Regions from separate parts of the Homo sapiens genome. Here region 1 is linked to region 2. Evidence: promoter capture Hi-C in human tissues and cell types (Jung and others, 2019). All regions are on one chromosome and are shown on one strand. The core of a region is centred on a gene start or on the middle of the fragment in contact, and the rest is flanking DNA. Distances in the headings are between cores, read along the strand shown.

Region 1 (3,566 bases), core at 293-2,792, 560 kb after region 2:
TGTGCTGCACATTTCACATTCAATAATGAGTCTCCAATCCCTGAGGTTTCTACCTCCACCTTCTGGGATGACTTTGTGGGAAGCCGCTTGGTCAGGTGCCGTGTGATTCCTGGCACAGCAGTGAGCACTGGTTTCTCTGCCACTTGGGTATTGCAAGAGGCTACATCTCCCCGAAGAGGTGTCAAGACTGATTTTTCCCTCTCCTGCTGTTTCTGCATGTGCTTCTCTCTCATGGTCTCACATCTCTTGACTTGAATTTTAGTGATGTCAACTCCTGTGGTCTCACCTGAAGCCTGTGGATAAATTTGAATGACAGAATTAAAATCTGGTACCTCTAATAACCTGTATGATGTAAGTACCAGGCTAACATCTAAGTTAAGCAGAATCTCACATGATCCAGAATCTGAGAGAAAAGCTCTTTATTTGATGTTAAATAGACAATACCCTGTTAAAGATGAAAGATTAGAATTACAGATGTATGGAATAATAAAAAACCCAGATTCCACAGGCTAGACAACCATGACTCTAAGTCAAATACTAATGATTCCTAAATAATCAAATACCTGCACAAAGATTTATGTACAAATATATTACTTTAAATTGTGTAAAACAAAATCTGAATGTCCAGAAAAAGACTGTATTTGTATAATGGAGAATCATGTGGTCAGTAAAAACAAACTTCTTGAAGAATTATTAACATGGTAAAGTTAAAGCAGGCTGTAAAATGATACACTGTAGAGTTCTCCATTATGTTCTAAACATGGGTTTAACATTAAACAAATTCACATGCATGCATATATAAACAAAAAGGTCGAAGAAGGCCAAGTGTGGTGGCTCACACATGTAATCCCAACACGTTGGGAGGCCAAGGCAGGCAGATCACTTGAAGCCAGAAGTTCGAGACCACTCTGGACAACATGGAGAAACTCTGTCTCTACTAAAAATACAAAAATTAGTCAGGCTTGGTGGTGCATGCCTTTGATCCCAGCTACATGGGAGGCTGAGGCACAAGAATCGCTTGAACCCAGGAGGCAAAGGTTGCAGTGAACCGAGATCATGCCACTGCACTCCAGCCTGGGCAACAGAGCAAGACTGAAAAAGCTCGAAGAAATCCATGGAAAAGATAATGATGGTTACATCTGAGCTGTATATTTTTAGGGTTTGTTCAGTTTTAAAAAAAATAAAATTTCCAACTTTTGTATGATGCATAGCATTAGAAAAAACTCAGTTAAAAAAAAGTAATGGCCAATTAAACAAAAAACTTTATTTTTTGTATTTTTAGTAGAGACGGGGTTTCACCGTGTTAGCCAGGACGGTCTCAATCTCCTGACCTCGTGATCCGCCCGCCTCAGCCTCCCAAAGTGCTGGGATTACAGGCGTGAGCCACCGCGCCCGGCAAACAAAAAACTTTAAAAGGGCAGCGAATACTGATATACATAGAACTACAGGAAATTCTCATAAGAAATTATAAGTAAAAAGAAAGACTGTTTACCTAATATATGAATGAAGTACTTAGAAATTTATTGTAAGGTAAAACTACCAATTATCTAGCCTTTGTTTGCCATGAACAAAACCATACAATAATCTTAAATTTACCTCTTTAGCTTCTGTTCTAATACTGCTCTGAGAATCAACTTCATTTCCTTCCTGAAGGTTCTTCTCTTCTTTCATCCCTGTATTCACATTAAAGACATCATTAGTTATTTTATTTAAGCTGCAACTTCATGATAGATATGTTAAACAAAACTTTATTTAATGAAAGTAGTAAGACAGGACAAATAAAATTACAGATAAAGCCCATCTGTGCTCCTAAAGTCTCAAAATACACATTAAAATAGCAAAGGTTGGCCGGGCATGGTGGCTCACACCTGTAACCCCAGCACTTTGGGAGACTGAAGCAAGCAGATCACACTTGAGGTGAGGAGTTTGAGACCAGCCTGGCCAACATGCTGAAACCCCATCTCTATTAAAAATACAAAAATTAGCGGGGTGTGGTGGCACATGTCTGTAGCCCCAGCTACTTGGGAGGCTGAGGCAGGAGAATCACTTGAACCTAGGAGGTGGAGGCTACAGTGAGCCAAGGTCATGCCACTGCACTGCAGCCTGGGTGACAGAGTGAGACTCTGTCTCAAAAATAAAATAAAACAAAATAGCATAGGTCTACATAGCACTACTGAAAAACTTCATTTAATTCAGTGTTTTCAACGTTATCTGAGTAAAGAAAGGTTGTCAAACAACTCCTAGGAAGATCCCACGGAACACTCCTCTGGAATATTATGTGGGGACGTGGTACTAGAGACCAAGTTCTCTTGTTACCTGTTCTTTTGGTGATTCGCAGCAGCCGCCTTGCCCCTGGAGTGGCCTCGTGTTGAGACGGGGAGCTGGTGCTGCTCTCAGAGCTCTGCTGCACCCTCAGTGCCTTCTCCAGTTTAATTTCTTCCAGCGTCTTGATGTGCACCTCCTGCATAGACTTTGTTTTACCTGCAGGCTCCTCTGATTGTCCTCTGCTGGCAACAATGGGTGGCAAAACTACTGTTTTTTTAATTTCACTATCAATCTTTAGCTTGATGCAAGTTGTATCCTTTTTGCTTTTTTGTCTCTCTGCTTCCTGCTGCCGATGTTTTTTTTCAGCCAGGACCTCAGAGAAGGTTTTGATACGGATAGTGGAGGAGCTTCTTGCTCCTGAAGTAGAATCATCAGTTTTTGAAGGTCCTTCTGTCTTGAGTTTAGTTTGCAATTCTCCACGTTTCTGACTGGCTCTTTCAAGAAGAATTTCTTCTAATGTCTTCACATGGATCTCACCAACTTTATTAACTTTATCTGTTTTCACAGGAGAAAAACATGTCATTATACTTGAAGTTCATCTCTTACTGACTTATGATCTCTCTATTCTTGGATCAAGACAGTCCAACAGAGAGCTATCATTTAAGCAGGCAATTAAAAGGATCAAAAGGGTAACATTTATTTCTTTTCCTTTTTTTCTTTTTCTTTTTTTTTTTAAGACAGAGTCTCACTCTGTTACCCAGGCTGGAGTGCAGTGGTATAATCTCAGCTCACTGCAACCTCTGCCTCCCAGGGTTCAAGTGATTCTCCTGCCTCAGCCTCCCAAGTAGCTGGGACTACAGGTACCCACCACCAAGCCCGGCTAATTGTTTCTATTTCAATTTTAGATTACTGCAAGTTCCAGGCAGTGGTCCTCAAGGAAAACTCTTTGGAGGCAAAAATTGATTTGTATTTCTATTCAGAAGCTTATTCTTCAGAAACTGAAAGCCATTTACTAGTTGGATAAATTTGTCATTATAAATCTTAACAAAAATAGCAATAAATTCTTCATTAACTTATGGCTATAAACATGTAATGAACACTGGGCTAGAAATACAATGGTAAGCAAAATAAAATCTCTGTCCACATGTAATTTACAGTCTAACAGATCAATAATTAAACTAGCTATAGCAGAGTATGGTAATGATAACTGCTTTGATAAGGTAGGTATAATGCTATAAAAGGACACAGCAGGAACACCTACACTTGTCTACAAGGAAATGATATTAAATTTAAAGGATAAA
Region 2 (3,247 bases), core at 361-2,860:
TTACCAGCCATTTTTTTTTTCAAAGGATAGTGGTCCATGTTTCCTTTTTGGCTGTTGTATTCTGTGGTTCTGGTTGCTAAGGAAGTATTAATAAATATGAATTGAATATGTTGCCTGCTTGGAAGCATAAAAGAGAGTAAATAGTTCTGGGGACTGAGCTGCTTCTCTGTGAGTTTAGTTTGCCCCACACCAGACATGTATGTACGCAGCACTGCCCAACTTTTACATAAGATCTCAGGTTGATGGTCTACATAGTACTGAACAATAGGAGAACCCTGAAATATCTGTCAGGCTGGGCGCAGTGGCTCACGCCTGTAACCCCAGCACTTTAGGAGGCCGAGGCGGGCAGATCACTTGAGCTGAGTTTGAAACCAACCTGGGCAACACGACGAAACCCTGTCTCTATAAAAATATGCAAAAATTGGCCGAGCACGGTGGCTCACGCCTGTAATCCCAGCACTTTGGGAGGCTGAGGCGGGCGGATCACAAGGTCAGGAGATCGAGACCATCCTAGCCAACATGGTGAAACCCTGTCTCTACTAAAAATACAAAAAATTAACTGGGCGTGGTGGCACACGCCTGTAGTACCAGCTACTAGGGAGGCTGGGGCAGGAGAATCGCTTGAACCCGGGAGGCGGAGGTTGCAGTGAGCCGAGATTGCGCCACTGCACTCCAGCCTGGCGACAGAGTGGGAATCCGTCTCAAAAAAAAAAAAAATTTAGCTGGGCGTGGTGGTGCGAGCCTGTAGTCCCAGCTCCTCGGGAGGCTGAGGTGGGAGGCTCACTGGAGCCCAGGAGGTTGAGGCTGCAGTGAGCCGAGATCGCACTACTGCACTCCAGCCTGGGCGACAGAGCTAGACCCTGTCTCAAATAAATAAATAATAAAAATCTAAGACTACGATAACCCTACAGTTGGCCCGCGGGGCATTCAACCTTCCATGGATTGAAAATATTCGGGAAAAATAAAGATAATAAAACATAATACAAATAAATACAGTATAACAACTAGTTCCATAGCACTTGCATTGTATTAGGTATTATACTTAATCTAGGGGATGGTTTAAATATCTGGGAAGGTGTATGCAGGTTATATGCAAACACTATACCATTTTACATAAGGGACTTGACCGTCTGCGGATTCTGGTGTCTACGGGGTCCTGGAACTAATCCCCATTTCATGAGAGGGGATGACTGTACACACGTCAGTGTGTATTAGGCCATCAAAACGCCTCCGGGAAATTCTCGGGTTATTTTGAAAACCCCTCCCCTCCCCAAGACCTTTAACCTAGAGGGCTGTTGGGGCGGTCTCCTAGGAGACCACACAGAAACGACTGCGCATGCGTGCATTCCCCCCCCCCCCCCCCCCCCCCCCCCCGCCCCGGCTGATGCAACCTCACGCTGCCGTGCGGCTCTACCTCGAGTAAGGAAGCCGACAGGGAAATCTGGCAAAACCAATCGGCGGCCACACGGAAGTGGGCGGAAAGGCCCGCCCCCCGGGGATTTTGCGAGTGACGTTGGGCGGCGCGGCGCTAGGGACGTAGACGCCCAACAGTCCTGCGTCTCTTCCGGCGTCTAGGGGGGTGTCCTGCCGGCGCGCGGGCCCTGCGGCCATTTTGGGCTTCGCTTCCACCGCACCAGCCGGCCTACCCAGTCCTTCCGGTATCGCGTTGCTCAGGGGCTTTTCAACCCTCTGTCAGTCGGAAAACCATCGCCGAGGCCGTGGGGGGACTCCTATCCATGGTGTTGAAGCGTCGAGCCGACTAGGGAACCTCCTTCCCCGCCAGGATGGAAGTCGCATCAGTCGCCGCCTATTGCGCGGGCTGTTCTTCCCTGTGTTCTGCCGCCCGCTGCCGCATTCGCTGCCCTCTGTGGCTTTTCTGCTGGCTCGAAGATCGGCCTGGAGCAGCGACGCCACCGCTGGGCAAGGCCGAGACTCTGTAGGCTTCCTCCGAATCCCGTCGACCTCCAGCCGCTGAGCGCCGCGGCCCTACCTGAGAGACTGTCAAGAAAAAGGAGATGGAGCCGGGGACAGGCGGATCGCGGAAACGGCTTGGCCCTCGGGCGGGCTTCCGGTTCTGGCCACCCTTTTTCCCTCGGCGATCGCAAGCAGGCTCTTCTAAGTTCCCGACGCCTCTTGGCCCGGAAAACTCCGGGAACCCCACACTGCTTTCCTCTGCCCAGCCCGAGACTCGGGTCAGTTACTGGACGAAACTGCTCTCCCAGCTCCTTGCGCCGCTCCCCGGATTGCTTCAGAAGGTGCTAATTTGGAGCCAACTTTTCGGTGGAATGTTTCCGACCAGATGGCTAGATTTTGCTGGAGTCTACAGCGCCCTGAGAGCCCTGAAGGGACGGGAGAAACCAGCCGCCCCCACAGCGCAGAAATCTTTGAGTTCGCTGCAGCTCGACTCCTCAGACCCCTCGGTCACCAGTCCCCTTGATTGGCTAGAGGAGGGGATCCACTGGCAATACTCGCCCCCAGACCTAAAATTGGAGCTTAAGGCCAAGGGAAGTGCTTTGGACCCTGCAGCACAGGCTTTTCTCTTAGAGCAGCAGCTGTGGGGAGTGGAGCTGTTGCCCAGTAGCCTTCAATCCCGTCTGTACTCTAACCGGGAACTTGGCTCTTCGCCCTCTGGGCCTCTAAACATTCAACGCATAGACAATTTCAGTGTGGTATCCTATTTGCTGAACCCTTCCTACCTGGACTGCTTTCCTAGGCTAGAAGTCAGCTATCAGAACAGTGATGGAAATAGCGAGGTAGTCGGCTTCCAGACACTAACCCCAGAGAGCAGCTGCCTGAGAGAGGACCATTGTCATCCCCAGCCGCTGAGTGCAGAACTCATTCCGGCCTCGTGGCAGGGATGTCCACCTCTTTCTACGGAAGGCCTACCAGAAATTCACCATCTTCGCATGAAACGGCTGGAATTCCTTCAACAGGCTAGCAAGGGGCAAGATTTACCCACCCCTGACCAGGATAATGGCTACCACAGCCTGGAGGAGGAACACAGCCTTCTCCGGATGGATCCAAAACACTGCAGAGATAACCCAACACAGTTTGTTCCTGCTGCTGGAGACATTCCTGGAAACACCCAGGAATCCACTGAAGAAAAAATAGAATTATTAACTACAGAGGTTCCACTTGCTTTGGAAGAAGAGAGCCCTTCTGAGGGCTGTCCATCTAGTGAGATACCTATGGAAAAGGAGCCTGGAGAGGGCCGAATAAGTGTAGTTGATTACTCATACCTAGAAGG

The links. Contacts are between HindIII fragments. The study calls those that stand out against the background at their distance.
Region 1: a contact is called between a fragment that was not itself captured here and the fragment with the promoter of PPP1R15B in region 2, in 1 of the 25 tissues and cell types used here (heart left ventricle).

Annotation. Positions count from the first base shown.
Region 1 is chr1:203,846,438-203,850,003 of GRCh38, reverse strand. It overlaps ZBED6 (zinc finger BED-type containing 6), which reads right to left. Exons shown (of 17, transcript NM_001395895.1): 12 at 2,317-2,820; 13 at 1,597-1,673; 14 at 1-293. ZC3H11A (zinc finger CCCH-type containing 11A) reads right to left here. Exons shown (of 18, transcript NM_001376342.1): 13 at 2,317-2,820; 14 at 1,597-1,673; 15 at 1-293. Among named protein-coding and RNA genes, the nearest start is that of SNRPE, 13 kb to the left of the region's middle. The HindIII fragment of the contact is 5,303 bases long and covers 1-3,566 here.
Region 2 is chr1:204,410,180-204,413,426 of GRCh38, reverse strand. It overlaps PPP1R15B (protein phosphatase 1 regulatory subunit 15B), which reads left to right and starts at 1,610. Exons shown (of 2, transcript NM_032833.5): 1 at 1,610-3,247. The coding sequence starts at 2,016. RefSeq lists enhancers at 1,323-1,372, 1,383-2,082, 2,343-2,492, 1,799-2,633 and a silencer at 1,418-1,864. The HindIII fragment of the contact is 8,124 bases long and covers 1-3,247 here.